2 separate regions of the Homo sapiens genome follow, and region 1 is linked to region 2. The links are contacts of gene promoters, found by promoter capture Hi-C in blood cells and fetal thymus (Javierre and others, 2016). All regions are on one chromosome and are shown on one strand. The core of a region is centred on a gene start or on the middle of the fragment in contact, and the rest is flanking DNA. Distances in the headings are between cores, read along the strand shown. Region 1 holds the start of MAGEC1 (MAGE family member C1). Region 2 holds the start of MAGEC3 (MAGE family member C3).

The links. Contacts are between HindIII fragments. The CHiCAGO score rates a contact against its expected background, and 5 or more counts as called.
Region 1: the fragment with the promoter of MAGEC1 here is called in contact with the fragment with the promoter of MAGEC3 in region 2 in 11 of 17 cell types (neutrophils, total CD4 T cells, fetal thymus and 8 more); the score reaches 11.6 in neutrophils.

Annotation. Positions count from the first base shown.
Region 1 is chrX:141,900,520-141,906,123 of GRCh38, reverse strand. MAGEC1 (MAGE family member C1) reads right to left here and starts at 2,230. Exons shown (of 4, transcript NM_005462.5): 1 at 2,146-2,230; 2 at 1,310-1,407; 3 at 1,048-1,154; 4 at 1-715. The coding sequence starts at 1,051. RefSeq lists an enhancer at 915-2,114. The HindIII fragment of the contact is 6,965 bases long and covers 820-5,604 here.
Region 2 is chrX:141,834,956-141,840,640 of GRCh38, reverse strand. MAGEC3 (MAGE family member C3) reads right to left here and starts at 2,325. Exons shown (of 8, transcript NM_138702.1): 1 at 2,203-2,325. The coding sequence starts at 2,325. The HindIII fragment of the contact is 1,245 bases long and covers 1,193-2,437 here.

The sequences.
Region 1 (5,604 bases), core at 981-3,480, 66 kb before region 2:
GAGGGGCTCACAGGAATCTGGAGAGGAGACTGGGCAAAACCCTCAAAAGTACTCTGAGTTCTCTCAGGGGAACTCTGGAAAATACTCAATAAAGTGGAGGAGAAGGAGCGGCTCACAGGAATCTGGAGTGGAGACTGGGGAAAACCCTCAAAAGGACTTTGAGTACTCTCAGGGGAACTCTGGAAAATACTCACTAAAGTGGAGGAGGAGGCGGCGCTCACAGGAATCTGGAGAACAGACTGGGGAAAACCCTCAAAAGGACTTTGAGTACTCTCAGGGGAACTCTGGAAAATACTCAATAAAGCAGAGGAGAAGAAGGAACTCGCAGGATTCTGCAGAGGAGACTGGACATCCTCACCCTCAGGAGGGCTCTGAGAAATCTCTAGAGGAGACAGGGAGTCCTTCCCCTCAGGAGAACTCTGAGAATTCTGGAGAGGAGACTGGGTGTCGTCGCCCTCAGGAGAACTCTGGGGAATCTGGAGAGGAGACTGGGAGTCCTTCCCCTCAGGAGGTCTCTGGAGAGGATCCGAGGAGTCCTCCCCCTCAGAACGACTCTGAGGACTCTGGAGAGGATACAGGGTGTCGTCGCTCTCAGGAGAACTCTGGGGAATCTGGAGAGGAGACTGGGAGTCCTCCCCCTCAGGACAACTCTGAGGACTCTCAGAGGAACTCTGGAGAAGACTCGGCATCCCAGCAGTAGGCATATCCTTGTCCCCTGGAGAACGCAGAAGCAGAGAGGAGGATGAGGATGAGAAAGAAAAACAGGAGGAGGACGAGGGGAATAAAAAGTGGAAAGAGGAAGAGAAAATGGAGGAAGCTTCCTCCTCTTCCTCATCTGGGGGATCCTCTGCATCTACCAACTCCAGTATGAAAATTGCCTTCTGGAAGCCTTGCTCAAAGCTGGGGCGTGGAAGGTTTAGAAAGAGAGGCATGATGAATATTGTTCAGGAGCAGCAGGTAAACGTGTGAACACGAATAGGTATGATGGGATCCCACAGGACTGAGGGAGAGAGGGACAGTGCCAGTGGCCTCAGCTGAGAAACTCACCCATGATGGCTCTGACAAAGGCCGGCTTACAGCTCTTCTTCTCTTAAGGTGGTGCTCTAGGGCCTCACAGGTCGCCTGTCTTCCTAGGGGGTTTGTCTTCTGGGAACCTGTAGAAGGACGCGAGAAAGCACCTCGGGGCACAGCTGGCAGGCAGAGCCTGAGGCACCAGGAATGACAGTGGGTGGCTACAGGCCGGGTGCTGCCAGGTCTGCCCTGTTTCTGGGGGTAGGGCCCTTGGTACACAGTCAGGTCGTGCACTCACCTTGACTCCTGGCACTGCCTGGGCCTCCTCTGCTGTGGTGCTTTTAGGATGTATGTGTCCCTCACACCCAGGTCTTCAACTCCTGCTTTCTGGAGCACCTGCAAGAGGAAGGGAGGGAGCCCCTCCAGCTAAGACGGCAGCTGGGGCTGGCCAGACTCCCAGAGTCCCACAATTCTGAGGTTCGTGACCCCCTCAGAATTCAATTAGCATTGTCACATTTTCTCAGACAGGGCCAGGCCCCCACCACTCTGCTGGCCTGAGGAAAAACCTCAGGAAAACTCCACATCACTGAGAGCAGTGGGAGGTAGTGAGGTGGCAGCCACCTCCCAGCACTCTACCACGGGGGCGGTCCCTGTGGCCTCACGTCTGTTCTGACGCACATGTGACCCCTCAGTCCTCACTCTTGTTCCCAGCAGGGCCTGGGAATCTTCCCTCTGCCAACTGGAGGCAGCTCCCCATGCTGACTTGCCATGGGACCCCCAGAACAAGGCCTCCTCCTCCCCCTCCCCTACACCCCTCACCCAGCAGTGAGAGGGTGGCCGCTCAGCCTCAGCCACCTGGGGAGCTCTATGGGGGCTGATTTGAGGAGCAGGGTGGGAATCTCTGGGAATCTGTCCTCTGAGGTGGGGGTTCCCCCGGTCCTCCTCAATGCCTTCCTATTTATTCTCTAGAGGGCCGGCATTTCCTCCCTTCTTCTGCCGTGAGGACACGTCCCTCAGCCCTCGGCTACCATCTTCGTTTCCGCCACCTACAAGTGCCACCGCAGGGATAGGGCAGGCCAGGGCTGCTTCTCTCTGTGGTGGGGTTGTCCCTCACTTCTCCCTCGGGGCCCTCACCTTGAAGACTGGATAGGTCTATAAGTCTCCTCCCTCCGCTGACCTGAGACGATCCTCGTCACAAAATGCCTCAGGTCCTTCAGACTCCCAAGATGGCCGCCGGGAAAGCACATCCGGCAAAGCACATCCGGGAACTCTGTCAGGGTTGATCAGGGCTGACAGCCCGGATAGCGTGGGGCGGGGCCTCCTCTCAGAGGAGGAAGGCGCCCCCCCCCCGCCGCCCGCTTGTCAGCCTCCTTTCCATCCCTTCCTTCCCACCTCCAGGATGTGCTCCAAACCTTTCTGCTCACTCCCTAAGCCCTGCTGACCTCTTCCCTCCCACCTCCCCAGTCCTTGACACTCACACCCCACCTTTTTCCAGGGCTGACAGCAGGGAGTGGCAGGGTGCAGCCTGTGCCTCCCCCGTGTTCGGAGGTCACTGTCCTTCGACAGAGTTCTCTTCTTGTTGAGTGGCCAGCCCTGGGGCTACTCCCTCTGTTTAACTGAAGCTGCCCTCCTCAGAGAAAATCTCCCCTCTGGCTGACTCCCAAAATGGAAGTCAGAAATTTGTAAATCTGGGGACCCTGATGGGCTCCTCCATGGCTGGCAGCAGGCACAGGGACAGGACAGGCAGCACTACCAGTCATGGGTGTTCCCTTCCTGCCTTCCTGAGAGGCTGTTCCTGGACTCCTGACATTGTCTGGGCTCCCTGCCTCTATGCATCTGAGTCTTTCACCTCCGAATAAGCCCCTCCCATCCTTGAGACCTGCAAGGTGCAAGAGAGGTAGAATCACATCCATCCACAGTGGGGTATGGCCTCCCAGACTCCAGGTAGGGCTCCACTGCCCTCCGTCTGAAATGGCATGGGAGGGACCCTCAGTCTTCCTCAACCTATTATTCCTGATACGGCCTCCACTCCCTCCCTCTTCTCTCCAGGGACTGTTTTTCAGATCAAGGTTCCCATTTCCATGAACCCCCCAAGAGGGACTGGAGCACGCTAGCGTCTCTCCCTAATGGCCCTGCCCAAGGCCTCCTAGCAGTGAAAACGGGCAGGTTTTTGGGGATCCTCCTGTGTCCGTGGTGGGGTAGCTCACCAGTCCATCCTCTGTATCAGCCTGGGGATGCCTAGAAGGCCCCCCTCCTGATCTTCCGCTCTCATGATCTGAAGTGAGACTCACCTAAGCACAGCCTTCTCCTCTTTCTACACGCTAAGACGTCAGGGGACAGCACTGTGGGTCAACATGCCCCTGGGCCTCCCAGGGATGACAACAGGTGGGGAGCTGGTTTCTGTGGATCCTCTTCTTTGTGGGCAGGAGGTTTCTGCAGTTTTCCCTCAGAGGCCTCATCTGACTACTGGCTGGTCCTGGGTCTTCCTATCCTTCCCAAGATGACAGTATGACACAGGGAAAAAAGTAATGTGACTTTACCCTGAAGAAAACTGACAAACACTAGGTCACCATGGTGATCAAAGTAACATCATCAGTGACAAATTGTGTTGGTATTATGTGCCGTCGGTATGATATGATAAGAATGGCACTTCACTTCTCTGTTCATCTTCCGAGAAAACGTAACCTACATCAAATCATAAAAAATAATCACTTAATTCCCAATCAAAGGCTATTTTACAAAATACCTGACCATACACCTCCAAACTGTCAATGTTTTCAAAATCAAGAGAAGTCTCAGTGAACTGGCACAGCCAAAGGGCATTTAAAGAGACATGATGAACAAGTGTAATGGCGTATCCTCAGGGTATCTTGGGACAGAAAATAGACTTTCGTGACAAGGAAATAAATGTGAATAAAGTATGTTTATTAATAAACAAAGGATGTTTGCATAGGAATAGTACCAGCTCTTCTTTAATAACCACATTTTAACTTCCTTGCCTCTGAGATAATCCCGTCTCCAAATAATGCCACATGTTAATTTCAACATAAGACTTCAGTGGGGGTGCAATTGAATCTATAATAGTGGAAAGGGAAGTGGCAGACCTATATGTATATTATTACCCATGTGTAGTTATAAACACATACATAAGCTCATATATGTATAAATTTTACTTTAAAAACCACATCAATCTTCTCAAAATTCTAAATCAGCTTTTAAATTTAAACACCACACGGTTAATTGTGGAAACTTCTGAATAGGGGGCTGAATTTTGGAGGAACTTTCCAAAAGGGAGAATTGTGATTTCTACCTCTTTTTTTAAGTTTTTGCAACAACAATATATGCAGTATTTATTTGTAAGGAAAGTATTGAAATAAGCCTAAGAAAAGGATGAGGAGCAGTCCAGGAGGCAGATAAAATAACAGTAAGCTCTTGGAACAACAACAAAAAAATCCTTCATTTTTACATGACTCAACACGTTTACTTTTTTGTACATAAATTCTGAATTTAGTTGGCAGGGTATTATGGGCTGAATTTTGAATCTCCCCCAAAATTCATATATCCGTCTTAAAACCCAGTATCCCAGAATGTGACTGTATTTGAAGATAGAAACTTTAAAGAGGTAATTAAGGTAAAATGAGGTCTTAAGGTTAGGCTCATATTCAGTATGACAGGTGTCCTCATAAAAGAGCAGATTAAGATACAGACACACAGACCAAGGAAAAACCATGTAAGAATTTAGTGAGAAAGTGGCCATCAGCAAGCCACGGAGAGGCCAGGGAAGAAATCAAACTGGCCCACATCTTGATCTTAGATATTTAGCCTCCAGAAATGGGAGAAAATTCATTTGTATTGTTTAAGTCACCCCGTCTGTGGTATTCTGTTATGGTATAAGAAACTAATCCACGGCGGGTCCTGGCTTTCACCTCAGCCAGGAATCCAAGCTGCTGTCACCTTATAGCTCCACGTCACAACAGATGTTAAGTGCTGAACGGAAATGAAAGCATGGGAATGATACACTGGCTTCTGTCTAACTACAAATGAACCCGCCAGGAAGGCGAGCTAGACAAGATGGAGATGGGCACTTGCAATCTCTCCCATATGTTATTACGGTGCTCAATGAAAAGCAACTATTATAATTGATGACAGTAAGTGCCTTCATTGCTTGGAATTGTTTCTGGGAATGTCCTCGTAGCCTTGAAATCTTCCAACTTTTTCTTGCACCTACGAGGTGACTGGTGGTTTCAAATTCAGGATTACATCCAGTTTTAAAACAATTCTGTAAGTCTTGGCAGGGAGGGTCTACGTTATTCCCTCAACAGCACTTGGCACTGTCCTTTTTAATAACCTGTATAATTTCTTTAGGCTGAGAATTCTGTCATATTTTTCGTGTACGGTAAATAATCTACCCTGTGAGCCTCTGCTACCCTCCATATGACGGAACATACCTGAACAGCTATACATGGGCCTGTGGCTCACTGCAAGCCAGGATTTTCTTGTGGGGCAGGTACACAGACAAGAGAGAGTGGAAGGATATTTAACTACTGTTTATTTCTCATCAAAACCAGCATGTCCCCCAAAGTATCCTTGTCA
Region 2 (5,685 bases), core at 1,076-3,575:
ATTTAGTGAGGAGAGGCACTCTCTCCCATTTAGAGACACAAGAAAATATTGCTTCTGTGAAAATCTTCTTAACATGGAGATGTTAGTAATGATGCCAAATTTATGAAATGTTCTTAAAGAGGTCTGAACAAAGTTTGCTACATAGAACAAATTCAAAATAATATGTAATTATATGTTTTTCCAATATCATATACTTTTGAAAAATGCAAAATCTTGTGCTAAATGTAACTTTCACTTTCTTAAATCACTTTTATGTCAATATTCTTATGAAAATATTTCTTAAAATTAAATGATATTTTATGACCTGATATTCTCTACTTGTCATTTATTTAGATTGCAAGCTAAAAACTAATTAGAAAGACTATACTTTTGCTGTTAACTTTCTCAGAGGTAAAATATCACTTTTCTTTAGTGGTTTGTGATGCTATGAATGAATACTTTCCAGGTTGGGTATTTCCTGGCTGTTAAATATCAGTTAAGTTTTGGCTGACTTCACCTCCATCTATCAACCTCCCTGCCAATCATTTAACAGCTATAGAATAGGTCTCCTCACACAAATCCTTCAGGAAGAATTTCCATTGTGCACATTCTGACCAGAAGAAAAAATGCAGCAAATTTTTGGAAAGTGAATCATTTTTAGAGTTCTGAGCAAATTATGTTAAACTCAGGGTTTCTCACTGTCAGCACCATCACATTTTAGGCAGTATAATTCTTTCTTGTGTGAGGTCGTCCTTTGTCCAATAAGACGCTTAGAAGCATCTCTGTCTCTGCTTATTAAATACCAGTAGCATTCCCTGCTGCCACCAATTATGACAACCAACAATATTTCTAGATATTGGCAAGTATCCCCTAAGTGGCAAAATCTCTTCCAGTTAAGAACCACTGAGTTAAGAACAGTAAGTAATGATCCAGGGAAAATGGATATAAAGATATTAAAAAGCTAGTAAAGCATTTGACATATTAGAAATGCATATAAACAATTCATATTTATAAAATAAAATCTACTGAAGATATAATGAATAAACACTTGTTTTGGTGAGCAAGCTTGGGATTGCAGCTGTGGGCCTGGAAGTGGTAGGAGCTGCAAAGCCTGCCCAGGATTAGCTGTAGCCAGAGCCGGCAGCCAAGACAATAGCAAAGATCAATTTGACCTCAAGATATAATCAAATATGACAGCAGAGTGAATGAAGCTTTTATTTTGCTCCGTTCTTCTCCATAATCCTTCTTATGCCCATAATCATTATAATTACATAAAATATTTAAAAACCTTTAAAAATTATTTCTTGGAAACCATGAATATGGCAGACTAGAGGCATTTTGTACTCACTTTCTCCATTAAAAATAACCAAACGGTGAGTCGATAATCACACTTTGAATATATAATTCAAAGGAAATCACTGGAATCCATTAGAAAAGTGATAGGCAATACTTAAAGCAGAGATGGAGAGGGAATCAAGGCAGCCTGCTCATCCAGGATCAGCTGTGAGCTGAGAGACTCCAAATACAGAGAAAGGATAGGTGAGAGAGCCTCAGTAGTTTACATTCTCACTATAGACTCCTATAATCCCAGCCACAGGAGATCCCTTCAACCATCATGGGCCCCGAAACTAACATAGAAAGCTGCCAGGAGATTGTATGATGGCACTGCTTCAGGGAGAAAGCTCCCGCTGGGTCCCTCACACTTCTTGAGACTTAAGCAGCTACAACAAAGTACCATTTTAGAGCCCTGCCCTCAACAGACTGAGCACTGTCCTGGAGCCCAGTAGCCCAGGGCTGAGGTGCAAGAGAAGCACGAACTGCTGCCCCAGGGACATAGGCATCAGTGACTACAGACTACAGCATCTGGTGCAGAGGTGGGACGAAGGCGTGGGCTGCTGCTTTTAGGACTGAGGCACAAATGAGGCACCACTGCAGAGCCTCACCCCCGATGAACTACATACTGTCCTGGAGCCCAGTGGCATTGAGGCCTAGGTGCAAACTAAATGTCTGATGTTTCCCTGGAGATTCAGACATGAGCGACCACAGGCTACTGCAACCAAGGGAAAGACATGAACATCAAGGCTGGGCAAGATAGCATCTTAGAGCCTCACCCCCAACAGACTGCACACTGTCTTGGAGCCAAGCAACACTGAGGCTGAGATGCAAAAGAAGAGCTGGCTGTTAACCTGGGGCTTAGACATGAGCATTCATGGGCTACCACACCTGGGGCTGAGGTGGGAGCACCACTGGGGATAAGGCATATGTGGCACATGTGTTTTTCACCCACTGGCCTAGACTGCCATCACTGAAGGTGGCATCCAACACCCAGTGGCAGGGCAGCAGCATGGCCACTGCCACCCTGTCTTTACCAAAGAGATAGAGACCATAAAAAAGGAACGAACAGAAATTCTGGAGCCAAAGAATGCAGTGAATAAACTAAAAAATACACATGAAAGCTTCAACAATATACTCAATCATAACTGACTTATGTTAAGATCACATTTTGCTTGAAGACAGTTTTTTTTGAAATAACGCTGTCAGACAAAAATAAAGAAAAAAAGAAAATAATAAAATAAACCTTTGGAATCTATCTAACAACATAAAGTGACCAAATATAAAAATCACTGATAGCCCAGAAGGCAAAGAGAGAAAACATGTTTTCAAAGACCTATTTATTGAAATAATAGATGACACTTCCTAAGTCGAGCAAGACACTTAGACATTGAGATACAGGAGGCCCATCAATTCCTAAACAGATACAATGTGAAAAGGTCTCTTCCATAGCACATTACAGACAAAATATTTAAAGTTTTTTTTTTCTTTTTTTCCAAGATGGCAGATTGGAAGCATTATAAGCATACTTATCCCACTTGGTAAGACAAAATGGCATGTAGAGATTCATGCTGTAAAATTTATTCGAAGAAACAATGTAAGAACTTAACAGAAAAACTGAAAGAAACCACAGACCCTTTGAATGAAGTGGCAGGCAACAGACTACATCATAAAACAGATGGAAAACCATTAGTCCCCAGAGCATGAGAGAGGGATAGATTGCTGTCATGACATATACTCCCACAGGCGAGCCAGGCAATACAAGTCATGAGGGAGGACTTCAAACCTACTCAGCTCTAGAGGTGATTCAGTGAAAAGTAAGGAATATATAAGAAGGAGCAGCATCGGGACATGCTTTGTGTGCAGACCCAGATTCCAGCAAGAATGGAGGGAAGCCATTCCTGATCCCACCTCACGGGACGTTGCAGAAGTCTAACTCAGGCTGCAGTCACAGTTTGAGAGAAGAGCCCAACTGGGATTTGTGATATAATCCTTAGTAAGGACAAAGCTGATTGGCCAGAACCGAGGGGCAAGTGAGAAGTGTGCTACGGCAACAAGGCACATGAGCTGCATGGCCCTGCTTCACAGGTGGACTGGAAAGGATGCAGCCTGAAAGATATGGTTTCTGTGTCCATAGGGAAAGCTTATGGCCTGGGATGGTTTTAAATTCTGAGCACGGGCCACTTGAAACCCAGTTAGCTGCTGCTGCTAGCAGAACACTGTGGGTATGAAAACTGACTTGCCAAGTGTGTGGGAGCTGAGTGGGGCTTATTACAACCTGCTGCCTCCCACTTTTCAGGCAGATTTTTTGTGCAGCAGAGGCAGCTGTGTTCCTGCCTGGAACATTACCCCACCAGCCAGGGAACTGCCCTCGGATCCCCACTGGGGCCACTGCTTGCACCTGCACATGGGGAGCCAGAGTGCAGACTTGCCTGACTCAGTTTAATAACTTCTGAGGCACAATGAAATCATCCCAATGCCTCCATGTTCAATTTCAGGCACTAACAAGTCCCTGAGGTATTAAATGCATTGCTTTTCTGCGGTCTTGCCACCTTCAGGAGCTTACTAAGAAAATGAAGAAGAGCCACGATCACTCCTCTCAATTAGCCTCTTCCCTTGGCTGAGAAATGTGTTTCCGGTCTTGAGAACACAGAAGTTTTGCATTTGCTCATGAGAGATCTGAAACCTTCTGACACTGCCCTGCATCTTTTCCATTCCCTCTAAATAGAGAAGACTCTTCTCCTGTCTCCTACCTTCTGCTCTGACATCCATTCACTAACACCTAGGCACAAAAAGCCTAGTTCACCCAATGGCAGAAACGGCTAAGGTGGGCCTCTTCCAAGCTATGAACAACATTTCAAAGCTTAAGTCCCTACCCTCTTCCAACACAATGTCCTTTTCATTCCTCTAGCTCAGTAGTGCTCAGATTGGGGGTGATTTTGCACCCCATCCCAAGAAGACATTTTGCAGTCTGGAAATATTTTTGGTTGTCACAACTGGGATGGCTCTTGGTGCTATCGGCATCTATTGAATAGAAACTAGGAATGCTGCTAATCATTCTAAATTCAGCAAGATGACACCCCCTCAAAAAAGCCCACAGAACTATCTGTCTCAAAATGTCAATAGTAATAAAGGTGAAAAACCCTGTAGCTCATTCCTTAATAGGCCACCCAAAGAGATTTTGGATGTTTTCATTTATAAAATTATGCATATATTTTGGCAAATCAACAGCTGTTTCTCACCACTGATGGTTAGACAAGGGAAAGAATAAGGAGACTGATATTATAATGAGCTCATTCTATGCCAGGTACAGTGCTCAATACTTCAGATTTATATTATCACATTTAATCTGTTAAAAATGTCCCAACATGTAGTAACAAGAGTTATTTTTATTTTACAAAGTTAAAAGAAAACTGAATTTTGAACAAATTGAAAGATCGATTCAGATTACAGCATCTGTAAATGGCAGAGCAGAAACTTACTATTAATGATCGCATGGCTTCAGAGCTGATGCCAGCCATCTCAATCTCACAAAGATCTCCGCATTCACTCATCTTTTACCCTCAAGCATTGTCTTACGTAGACATTCCTGACTTATTCCAATGGAAAGTCAAAAACAGAAATTTGATATTCAACAAGGAATATTATGTAGGATTTTGCTGTTGTTTCCTGAAAATTTTTCAATATACTGAATAAGCTATGGGAAAGCAAGCGGAAATAGTGTTGGCTTATAAAACCTCTCACCCTGTGACTAACCAAAATGAACAGAAAGGATTCATCAATGCTGAAACTTGAAACAAAACTGAGTCTTAATCAATATAATTCTTGAGGTATGATTCAGATCCAGTATAATTTGGCCCAGATTGAAAGAAGACTCAAAAATCAATATATAACCCCTATCACTACCTTGGTCCAGATATTCCAATTTGAAGAAGCAAGGAAATTAGACTTGAGCAGATCTGGAGGAAGTGTAGGCTGCACTGTGTGGAGCTTGTTTCTCCACTGCAAATAAGCATTCCTGAGAAACTAAATGCTGGACAAGATGCAAAGCCATACAACCGATGTGATTGCCTCCCTAACTACCTGCCAACCTGTAGTTTATCTTCCTTCTAAACAGACAGAATATCAGAGAGAAGTAGAAGCAATCTCTTGAGAATCATAGCCACAGCCTTCTGCACAGAAAAATACATAGGGTCAAACAAAACAAAAACCTCAACAACCCTGGACTTTTTATGAAAATGAATTTCTCACTTTGAGAGGGAGTAAACTGAAACACAAAAAGGCCATTCTTCACCAACAGATGAGAGCATGCCCCCAACACGGTGCTGCTGATGCCAGTGCATAGGAGCCAAAAAATCAAACTGAGCAACTAAG